Regions from separate parts of the Homo sapiens genome. Here region 2 is linked to region 1. The links are contacts of gene promoters, found by promoter capture Hi-C in blood cells and fetal thymus (Javierre and others, 2016). All regions are on one chromosome and are shown on one strand. Each heading gives the region's core, a stretch centred on a gene start or on the middle of the fragment in contact. The rest is flanking DNA. Distances are from core to core; before and after follow the strand shown.

Evidence for each region. The method cuts DNA at HindIII sites, captures the fragments that hold promoters and counts their contacts. A CHiCAGO score of 5 or more calls a contact.
Region 2: a contact is called between a fragment that was not itself captured here and the fragment with the promoter of SPATA21 in region 1, in 1 of 17 cell types (endothelial precursors). The highest score is 5.3, in endothelial precursors.

Annotation. Positions count from the first base shown.
Region 1 is chr1:16,434,216-16,439,865 of GRCh38, reverse strand. It overlaps SPATA21 (spermatogenesis associated 21), which reads left to right and starts at 2,442. Exons shown (of 13, transcript NM_198546.1): 1 at 2,442-2,738. RefSeq lists a silencer at 1,542-1,712. The HindIII fragment of the contact is 2,188 bases long and covers 591-2,778 here.
Region 2 is chr1:16,248,697-16,254,211 of GRCh38, reverse strand. It overlaps FBXO42 (F-box protein 42), which reads left to right. Exons shown (of 10, transcript NM_018994.3): 7 at 481-577; 8 at 1,060-1,116; 9 at 1,808-1,924; 10 at 2,427-5,515. The coding sequence ends at 3,542. Among named protein-coding and RNA genes, the nearest start is that of CPLANE2, 14 kb to the right of the region's middle. The HindIII fragment of the contact is 6,409 bases long and covers 1-5,515 here.

The sequences.
Region 1 (5,650 bases), core at 1,193-3,692:
TCTCAAAAAAAAAAAAAAAGAAGAAGAAGAATTCCAGTCTTAACTTCGATTTCTCCCAGAATATTCTGGGAGATACAATGTCTACCCTAGCCAAATTCTCAAAATCCCTCCTTCCCTACCATTCTCTCATTGAGTTGAGTGCCTGCAATGTGCCAGCCCCTATGTGGGGGTGAAGCTGATCCCAAACTTCTGATTCACTGAATACCCCAAACTTTCCCCACCCCTTCTTTCCTTTTCTCTCTCACTCTCCTTCTCCTTTTTACTTTTTTTTTTTTTTTTCTTCAGACAAAGTCTCACTCTGCCGCCCAGGCTGGAGTGCAGTGGTGCAATCTCGGCTCACTGCAACCTCCACCTCCCGGGTTCAAGCGATTCTCCTGCCTCAGCCTCCCGAGTAGCTGGGATTACAGGCACCCACCACCAAGCCTGGCTAGTTTTTGTATTTTTTTGGTAGAGACGGGGGTTTCATCTGGTTGGCCAAGCTGATCTTGAACTCCTGACCTCAAGTGATCCGCCCACTTCGGCCTCCCAAGTGCTGGGATTACAGGCGTGAGCCACCACGACTGGCCATTTCTACTCATTTTTTATAAGCTTTTTATTATAGGATTGATCTAACCACTTACATTTTTATTGTAAAATATACATAACATAAAATTTACCATTTTAAGTGTACAATGCTGTGAAATTAAGTACATTCACAATATTGTGCAACTATATCATGCTTTCCAGAACTTTTCATCATCCCAAACAGAAACTCCACACCCATTAGCAATAACTTCCCATTTCCTTCTGCTCCATCCCTTAGTAACCTCTGTTTTACTTTCTGTCTCTATGAATTTGCCTTTTCTAGATACCTCTTATAAGTGGAATCATACAATATTGGGCTTTTGTGTTTCTTATTTCACTTAGCATCAAGTTTTCAAGGTTCTTTCATGTAGCATGGATCAGAATTTCATTCCTTTTAATGGAGGGATAATATTCCATTGCATGTATATACCATATTTTGTTTATCCATTCATCTGTCAACAATTGGGATGTTATCACCTTTTGGTATTGGGAATCGGGCTACTATGAGCATTGGTGTTCAAACACTTGTTCTAGTCCTGTTTTCCATTTTCTTGAGTGTATACATAGGAGTGAAACTGCTGAGTTATACAATAATGCTATGTTTAGTGGTTTTGTTTTGTTTTGTTTTGTTTGAAACAGCATCTCACTCTGTTGCCCAGGCTGGAAAGCACTGGCATGATCATGGCTCACTGCAGCCTCAACCTCCCAGGCTCAAGTGATCCTCCCAACTCAGCCTCCCAAGTAGCTGGGACTACAGGTGTGAACCACCATGTCCGGCCTTGCTCACCTTTTTGAGGAGCCTCCAAACTGTCTTCCACAGCAGCAGCACCATTTACGTTCACAAGGGTTTCAATTTCTTCACATTTTTGCAAATATTGGTTATTTTTCTTTTCTTTTCTTTTCTTTTTCTTTTCTTTTTTTTTTTTTTTTTAGACAGGGTCTCTCTCTTTCTTTCTCTCTCTGTCACCCCACACTGGAGTGCAATGGTGCGATCATCACTCACTGCAGCCTCAAATTCCCGGGCTCAAGGGATCCTCCTGCCTCAACCTTTTGAGTAGCTGGGCCTACAGGCACACACCACCCTACCCTGCTATTTTTCTTACTTTTTGTAGAGACGGGGGTCTTGCTATGTTGCCCAGGCTGGTCTTGAATTCCTGTCTTCAAGAGATCCTCCTGCCTCAGCCTTCCAAAGTGCTAGGATTATAGGCATGAGCCACCATACCTGGCCTTATTTTCCAATTTTTTTTTTTTTGAGACTAAGTCTCACTCTACCACCCAGGCTGGAAGACAGTGGCATGATCTCAGCTCACTGCAACTTCTGCCTCCCAGGTTCAAGTGATTCTCGTGCCTCAGCCTCCTAAGTAGCTGGGATTACAGGCATGCGCCACCATGCCTGGCTAATTTTTGTATTTTTAGTAGAGACGGGGTTTCACCATGTTGGCCAGGCTGGTCTATAACTCGACCTCAAGTGATCCACCCACCTCGGCCTCCCAAAGTGCTGGGATTACAGGTGTGAGCCACCGCACCCAGCCATTCAGAGCACTTTCAGTTCTGTTCAGTCTAACAAAGACAGGCATCGAGCACATACCCTATGCCAGGTGCTGAGTACTGGGGTCACTGGGATGTGGCCAATCCAGCTCCTACCATCCTGGAGCTCGCAGACTGGAGGAGACAGAGAGAAAAGCAGTCATTGGCAAAGCAGAATGAAAGGTACTGTAATGAAGCAAATTCACAGGGGCCTGTGGGAGCAAAGAGAAGAAACCCCACACAGTCTGGGGAGAGTCAGGGAAGGCTTTCTGGGAGAGAGTACCCTGGCCCAATAATCACTGTGAGGTTGGCAAGGCAACGATTGTTATCTTCATTGTGTAATGGGGGCCACTGAACCAGTGACAAGCTGGGGGAAATGACACTGTCCAGTAGTTGGAGGTCACACAGCCCCTTGCCTTATTCTCAAACCCTAACCACATGGCTGGATATTCCTGAAATGCATTCCTAAACCTCTGCTGCTGAGAATAATTGGACCTGCCATCTATTCCCAGTTTAACTGCCCTGTATACCAAACAAATCCAATTCAAGCCAACAGGCAAAGTATAGGCTCAGACAGAGCCCATCCTATGTGCAAGGCGGTGAGCAGGGGTGGAAAATCTCACTGTGACTCATCCAGCTGATTTCTGGTAGGTGCAGGGCCAAGGTGGGGTGTAAGGTGAACAAGCTTTCCCTGACGGCCTCCAGACATATATATGATATGCCACTTATCTTTATCTGCTGTATTTTCCTGCCATCATAGATATTTCCAAGAGAAATTCTCCCATTTTTCAGATGAGGAAACCACTTATAAAAGGGGCACTCAATACCCAAAGAATTTTGAAAAAGAACAAAGTTGGAGGACTCACACTTCCTGATTTCAAAACTTTTTATTTATTTATTTATTTATTTGTTTTTCCATAGGTTATTGGGGTACAGGTGGTATTTGGCTACATGACTAAGGTTTTTGTTTTTTGGTGTTTTTTTTTTGTTTACATTAGTAATTTTTTTTGAGACGGAGTCTTGCTCTGTTGCCCAGGCTGGCGTGTAGTGGTGCAGTCTCTGCTCACTGCAACCTCCATCTCCCAGGTTCAAGCGATTCTCCTGCCTCAGCCTCCCAAGTACCTAGGATTACAGGCAGGCACCACCATGCCCAGCTAATTTTTGTATTTTTAGTAGAAACAGGATTTCACCATGTTAGCCAGGGTGATCTCAAACTCCTGACCTCGAGTGATCTGCCCCCCTTGGCATCCCAAAGTTCTGGGATTACAGGCGTGAGCCACCTTGCCCTGCATGAGTAGGTTCTTTAGTGGTGATTTGTAAGATTTTGGTCCACCCATCACCTGAGCAGTATACACTGCACCCTATCTGTATTTTTTTTTTTTTTTTTTGAGACAGAGTCTCACCCTGTCATCTAGGCTGGAGTGCAATGGTGCGATCTCGGCTCACTGCAACCCTCCACCTGCCAGGTTCAAGCAATTCTCCTGCCTCAGCCTCCTGACTAGCTGGGATTACAGGCATGTGCCACCATGCCCGGCTAATTCTGTACTTTTAGTAGAGACGGGGTTTCTCCATGTTGGTCAGGCTGGTCTCAAACTCCCAACCTCAGGTGATCTGCCCGCCTCGGCCTCCCAAAGTGCTGGGATTACAGGCACGCACCACCACACTCAGCTAATTTTTTGTATCTTTAGTAGAGATGGGGTTTCACCTTGCTGGCCAGGCTGGTCTCAAACTCCTGACCTCATGATCCGCCCGCCTCAGCCTCCCAGAGTGCTGGGATTACAGGTGTGAGCCACCGCACCAGGCCGATAAATGGGACTTTTACAAAAATTTAAAACTTCTGTGCTTCAAAAGACAAAAAGGTGAAAATGTAATCCACATAATGGGAGAAAATTTTTGCAGATCATATATATGATTCAGGACATGTATCTAGAATTTATAAAGAACATTTACCGTGCAATAATAAAAAGACAACCCAGTATAAATGGACAGAGGCAGGCTGGGTGCTGTGACTCATGCATGTAATCCCAGCATTTTGGGAGGCTGAAATGGGAGGATCACCTGAGCCCAAGAGGTCAAGGCTATAGTGAGCCACGTTCATGCCACTGCAGTCCAGCCTGTGGACAGAGTAAGACCCTGTCTGAAAAAAAAAAAAGGGGGGGGCCGGGCATGGTGGCTCACACCTGTAATCCCAGTACTTTGGAAGGCTGAGGTGGGCAGATCACCTGAGGTCAGGGGTTTGAGACCAGCCTGGTCAAGATGGCAAAACCGCGTCTCTACTAAAAATACAAAAATTAGTCTGGTGTGGTGGCACACACCTGTAATCCCAGCTACTAGGGAGGCTGAAGCAGGAGAATTGCATGGACACGGGAGACGGAGGTTGCAGTGAGCTGGAACTAGGCCACTGCACTCCACCCTGGGTGACAGAGCGAGACTCCATCTCAAAAAAAAAAGGACGAAGGCTCTGAATAAACATTTTTCCAAAGAAGATAGACAAATGGCCAATAAGCACATGAAGATGTCCAACATTATCGGCCATTGGGGAAATGCAAATCAAAATCAGAATGAGATAACACTTTACACTCACATCCACTAGGATAGCTATGATAAAAAAGACAAGTAAGGCGGTACAGTGGCTCACACCTGTAATCCCAAAACACTGGGAGGCTGAGGCGGGAGGATCCCTTGAGCTGAGGAGTTCAAGACCAGCCTGGACAACATAGTGAGATTCCCATCTACAAAATATTTGAAAATTAGCCAGGTGTGGTGGTGTGCACTTGTAGTCTCAGCTACTCAGGAGGCTAAGGTGGGAGGATCCCTTGAACCCCAGAGTTGGAGGTTGCAGTGAGCTATGGTCATACCACTGCACTCCATCCTGGGTGATAAAGGAAGACCCTGTCTCAAAAAATAAATAAATAAATAAATAAGACAGATAATAACAAGTGTTGGAGAGGATGCAGAAAAATTGGAGCAGTCATATGCTGCTGGTAAGAAGGTAAAATGATACAGCCACTTTGAGAAAGTCTGGCAATTACTCAAAAGCTAAAAATAGAGTTGACATGTGATTCAGCAATTCCGTTCCTATATACATAACCAAGAGAAATGCAAATGTATGTTCATATAAAAACTTGTACATGAATGTTCATAGCAGTGTTATTCATAATAGGTAAAATGTGGAAACGGGCCAGGCATGGTGGCTCACACCTGTAATCTCAGCACTTTGGGAGGCCAAGGTGGGAGGATCACTTAAGCTCAGGACTTTGAGCAGCCTGGGCAACCTAATGAGACCTCGCCTCTATTTAAAATTAAAAAATTTTTAAGACGAACCAGGCATGGTGGCATGCGTCTGTAGTCCCAGCCAGCCACTCAGAGGCTGAGGGGAGAGGATCCCTTGAGCCCAGGAGTTTGAGGCTATAGTAAGCTACGATCGCACTGCTGCACTCCAGCCTGAGTGACAGAGCAAAACTCTGTCTCAAAAAAAAAAAAAAGAAAGAAAAAAGAAACAACCTCAATTTCTATCTACTGATGAATGGATAAACAAAATGGGGTCTAGCCATACAGT
Region 2 (5,515 bases), core at 1,789-4,288, 190 kb after region 1:
AATCTCATTAGGCACTAGTGTCTGGCCGCAGACGTGGCTCAGATGAGGCCTCGTGGAAAGAGCAGAGGGAGGGTCTCAGGATGACTTCTAGGGAAAGTAGGGGAAGAAAGATACAGCCTAAGTGCTAAGTAGGAGCATAACACTTTGCTGCGCATCTTTATAAAGGTCCCTTCATTTTATATCAGCTCCTCAGACAGTAGTAACAGTATTTTCATTTTAGAGATAAAGTCAGAGTTAGAGAAAATTAAGTGACTTGTTCAGGCTACAGAGCTGGGATTCAGCAACATGGTCTCTTTCTGGTTCAGAAGCCCCTGAACTCTGAGTAGGGCATCTCTAAAACCTGCTCCAGCCCACACAGTCTGTGAAAGTGAAAATGGTGCAAGTTTGCCAGATGGGCCACAGGCATGTGGAACTCCCCAGCCACCATTATGGTCCCTGGGAGCTCCTAACTACCTTTATCCTTCTGTCCTTAATTCACAGGAGCAATGATGTCTGGGTCCTTGACCTTGAGCAGTGGGCGTGGTCCAAGCCGAACATCTCTGGCCCCAGTCCTCATCCTCGAGGTGGCCAATCTCAGGTGCTCAGGAATTAAAATAACTATTCAGCAAACACTGTAGCGTCTTTCAGTTAGGACGGGAGAGGGAGGAGGGAGTCAGGTAAGATGCCAATATGCACTAAGCCAAAGAAAATGTATCATTCTTTTTTACTGGTATTTATTTTTCAACTTCTAATGGGTCATATTATTTATAGTGGTTTTATATTATGCTCCTCCCCAAAGCATTTACTTTGCTGTGTCATTTCTCAAGAGAATCCTGCATTTTATGTGGTTGACATTCATGTTAATATTTGATCAACAAAGAATGTATCCTTTCAGGTGAATTATCAGTAATTTATTCACAGGGATCAGAATTGATATGTTTTTAGGAGAATGGAGAGGTTATGGTAACTAGAATATTCCCATTTGGGAGCTAGGTAGGCTATTCTCATATACCAGTGAAGCATAGAAAGTCAGAAACCTGTGTCTTTGTAGGTTTATTTTCAATGTCTTCCCCTCCTCAGATTGTCATAGATGATGCAACTATCTTAATCCTCGGAGGGTGTGGCGGTCCCAATGCTGTGAGTATTGCTTCTGTGGCATTCCCATGTGCATGCTACTAAGTGTTCAAAACCTGTTTCCCCTGTCTTCTTTTCTAGGAGTATACAAGACTATTTCCATGGCATTTTAATTTAAGGAATGCTTTTTGGGTATAGCCTTTGTATTTTCTGGCCTTTGTTTCTGCTTTTTTTTAGGGTTGTGGGGGGATCCTTTTAATCATAGATATTTGTCTCTTGAATATTCATATCTATATTCTTCCCATTCCTATTTCCTTTTTAGGCTATAAAGTTTACTGCTATCATATTTTCAAAGGGGAGAGGGCAGTGGAACAAAAAAGCAGGTTGATAACTGTCAGAGTTCACACAGTATTTAAGAAAGCAGATTCAGAAAGTTGTGGATATGTATTATTTATCCTCTCCTTCAATCCCCAATACATACACATAAAATTATGGGCAAGTGTCAAAACCACTCAGTTGATTCATGGGTCACAAGCACAATTCCATGTGCTAAGCCAGTGGTAATATATGAATGAATGAAAGCGTAAGTGGATGCATGCACAACTGAATAATTAACTGAGGATTTTGCTATCCTTCTGAAGAGTCCACATCCTTTCAAGACCAGACAGGAGAGCTTTGAGACTGCAACTCTGTGTGTGTGTGTTTTGGAACGCATATCACACCTGAGTCTTGTTATTGGTTTTTTCTCTTACAGCTATTCAAGGATGCTTGGTTGTTGCACATGCATTCTGGTCCTTGGGCCTGGCAGCCACTCAAGGTAGAAAATGAAGAGCATGGGGCCCCAGAACTGTGGTGCCATCCAGCTTGCCGGGTAAGCAGGGAGCTGACAGGCTAGCAGGAGGACAGGTCCTAAATTGTGGAAAACCACATTACTTTGTCAGGTTACAAAGAAATTTGTACAAAAATAGAAAACACCTTGGTGTCACAAAAGAGGTGAACATTAGCCATAGCTCCTTTGGCATTTCTCACTAAATGGGAAAACTTACAGGGGCCCTACTCATTCAGTAAGTCCCAACTTTAAGCATCTGTTTGTCTGTGAAACTTTCCCTTCTCCTTCTAACAAAAATTGATTGTTCCCTTCTCCCCACCCCTTCTGTATACATATCTCTAATGATAGCATATGTCACACAAAGCAGCGATTGTTCCCATGTCTGACTTCTAGCCTAGAGGGCAGACTACATCATTTTCATCTTCATATCTCAGGTACCTACAAAATGTCTGGCACATGACAGATGCTCATGATAAAATGTTTGACAGTTGAATGAACAATCAGAATCATAGAAGAGTGTGAGCACTGGTCCTTTGTCTTCCAGGTGGGACAGTGTGTGGTGGTCTTCAGCCAGGCTCCTAGTGGGAGAGCCCCACTCAGCCCCAGTTTGAACTCTCGCCCATCACCTATCAGTGCCACTCCTCCAGCTCTCGTTCCTGAAACCCGAGAGTACCGCTCTCAGTCTCCAGTAAGAAGCATGGATGAAGCTCCTTGTGTTAACGGCCGCTGGGGAACACTGAGACCCAGGGCTCAAAGGCAGACTCCTTCAGGTTCCCGGGAAGGGAGCCTTTCCCCAGCCAGAGGAGACGGCTCTCCTATCCTCAATGGTGGGAGTTTGTCTCCAGGAACGGCAGCTGTGGGTGGCTCTTCTTTGGACAGTCCTGTACAGGCCATATCTCCAAGTACTCCATCTGCTCCTGAAGGATACGACCTGAAAATAGGACTTTCTTTGGCCCCCCGACGAGGATCACTACCAGATCAGAAAGATCTGAGATTAGGATCCATAGATCTGAATTGGGATCTGAAACCCGCTTCCAGTAGTAATCCCATGGATGGCATGGACAATAGGACAGTTGGGGGAAGTATGAGACACCCTCCTGAACAGACAAATGGTGTGCATACCCCACCTCACGTGGCCAGTGCCCTTGCAGGGGCCGTCTCCCCAGGTGCCCTGCGTCGGAGTCTGGAAGCCATCAAAGCGATGTCCTCCAAAGGCCCCTCGGCCTCTGCAGCACTAAGTCCTCCTCTTGGGTCTTCTCCAGGCTCTCCTGGGAGCCAGAGTTTGAGCAGTGGAGAAACAGTGCCCATCCCTCGCCCAGGGCCTGCCCAAGGAGATGGACATTCCTTACCTCCCATTGCTCGCCGCCTGGGCCACCACCCTCCACAGTCCCTAAATGTTGGCAAACCCCTATACCAGAGTATGAACTGCAAGCCCATGCAGATGTACGTGCTGGACATTAAAGACACCAAGGAGAAGGGGCGGGTCAAATGGAAAGTATTTAATAGCAGTTCTGTGGTTGGACCTCCTGAAACCAGCCTGCATACCGTGGTACAAGGCAGGGGTGAACTCATCATATTTGGAGGACTCATGGACAAGAAACAGAATGTGAAGTACTATCCAAAAACAAACGCCTTGTACTTTGTACGAGCAAAGAGATAATGTGTTCTAAACCCCTTTCCTTTTCTGTGGCTTTTAATTTGGAATTTTCCAGTGTGTAAGCATTTGGACTGAGAATTGGGAAAACAAAATTACTCCCAGAAGCCAAAACTCTTTAATTCCCAACCGAAGTCACTCCAGGCTGGGATCAAATCTCCATTAAGAAAAAAAATTATATATAAATATATATATATATATTATATAGCCAACTCTGTTGACAAAAAAAGGGAGAGATTTCCATCCTGGTTCAGATAAAGTTGTTGCTGTGTTTTAACAGGGGCTGGGCTGCCTTTTTCTACCTTGCTGGTAACTAGACCAAGAAGTTAGAGAATAGACTAACATCAGTAACTTCCCAAAAGAAACTGAAGAGCCCCCTGTAAATCTTTATGTGGCCTTCTTGGAGTTAAAAAATGAAAGGGCATATGTAAGTTGCAAAGGTGGAGGGTTTTAGACTCTCATGCTTCAGGTGCTGTCGGGGTAAAAGTAACTGTTTTTCCCCTTCTCTTAAAACCACAGAGGACCTGTGACAGCTCTGCAGAAATGCCAGTGCCTGGCCCCCTCTTGCCTTTTATGGCTGAGGAAAGTTACCCAACAAAGGATTTTATTCCACATTTGTGTGCCGGGTCATTGTGAAATAATGTTTATGCAGCCAACATCTGACCGCCTAGTAGTGTCCATTGGTCTTTGGAGTGCTTCTTGTGTGTCTCAGAAAACATTTTGTGTCTGATTGTGGAAATTTCTGACAATCAATCATATTTGGTGGCAAGTTGCCAAAAAACATATTTATTCTCCTCTTTCTTCCCTTAGAACATGGTACTTGGAAACTGCCTTTTCCATTCACTTACAGGCTGCTTTTTTCTTCTACCTTTTTTCTTTTCTTTTTTTTTTTTCATATGTGGTGAAGTCCTAAAACCTGTCTGACTTTCTGTTTCTTTTACAAAGCTCAGGTGCCTACAGAAATCAGAAGCTGCTTAGAAATACTTGTGGAACCCTTTCCCTGGTGTCACTAGGGGGCCAGTAGGGAATTCTAAGATGCCAATATTGTGAGAAATCTTTGAAGCAAGCATCAAAAGATACTGTTTTTTCCCTATGGGCTTCTTTTTACTTCCAAAGCACATTGAGCACACTCATCCCATATTTGTAGAATGTGGAAATTGATTCTGGAAGGGAATTCCAATAACAGTTCTTTTTAGAAATGTTTTTTTCCTTGTGGTGACATATATTCCTCTTCCTGGCTATTGGCAGGTGATGGAGTTGAGAATCATGTACTTGACTTCTTGACGCATGGCTGACCTCAGAAACAGCTCCATCCTTTGCACTTGTCTTCTTCATGTGTCACCCAAATAGGGCTTGGGTTTTTACTTTCACTTCATTTCTGAGATTAAGGTGTAACCAAGTAGAGCATTTCTTTGCTTGATACAGAAAGTTACTAGTCTCAACCATGGCCTGGGCATAGGAGATGTCAAAATAAGTTTATTTCAAATGGCACCATTTAAATAGGGATTTTTGGTGATTTCTCATCAGTGGAAAGAGGATTTTTGTTTTGCCTTTGTTTTGTTTTGAAATTTAAATCCTAATTTCAAAACATCACCTTGCCACCCTGACACTCCTCTTTTTATTATTAGCGTTTCTCAGGCACAAAGCCTGCTGCAGCTGGCCCTGGGTCCTGGCTTTCAGCCAGCATCTGGCAGCCTAAGTGTACTGATAAGTGTGTTTTCTCCTGTTACATCATGCTGAATCCTTTCCCTTAGCCATTAGCTTTTATGATGTGGTCTTCGTAGGAAAGCCACCCTGGTGCCAAGCCTAGCTTGTGGGGAGGGGTATGTGTTCCAGAAACTGCTCTTTGTGTTCCCTTCAATGAGGAAACAACATGTGTCTACTTATGTGGCATCCAACTGCTTGGAGCTCCACACTTCCCTTTCGCGACTCAGGCTCTGGTGCTGTTGCCAATCCTTGCTTGGCAAAGACTGTTCGAT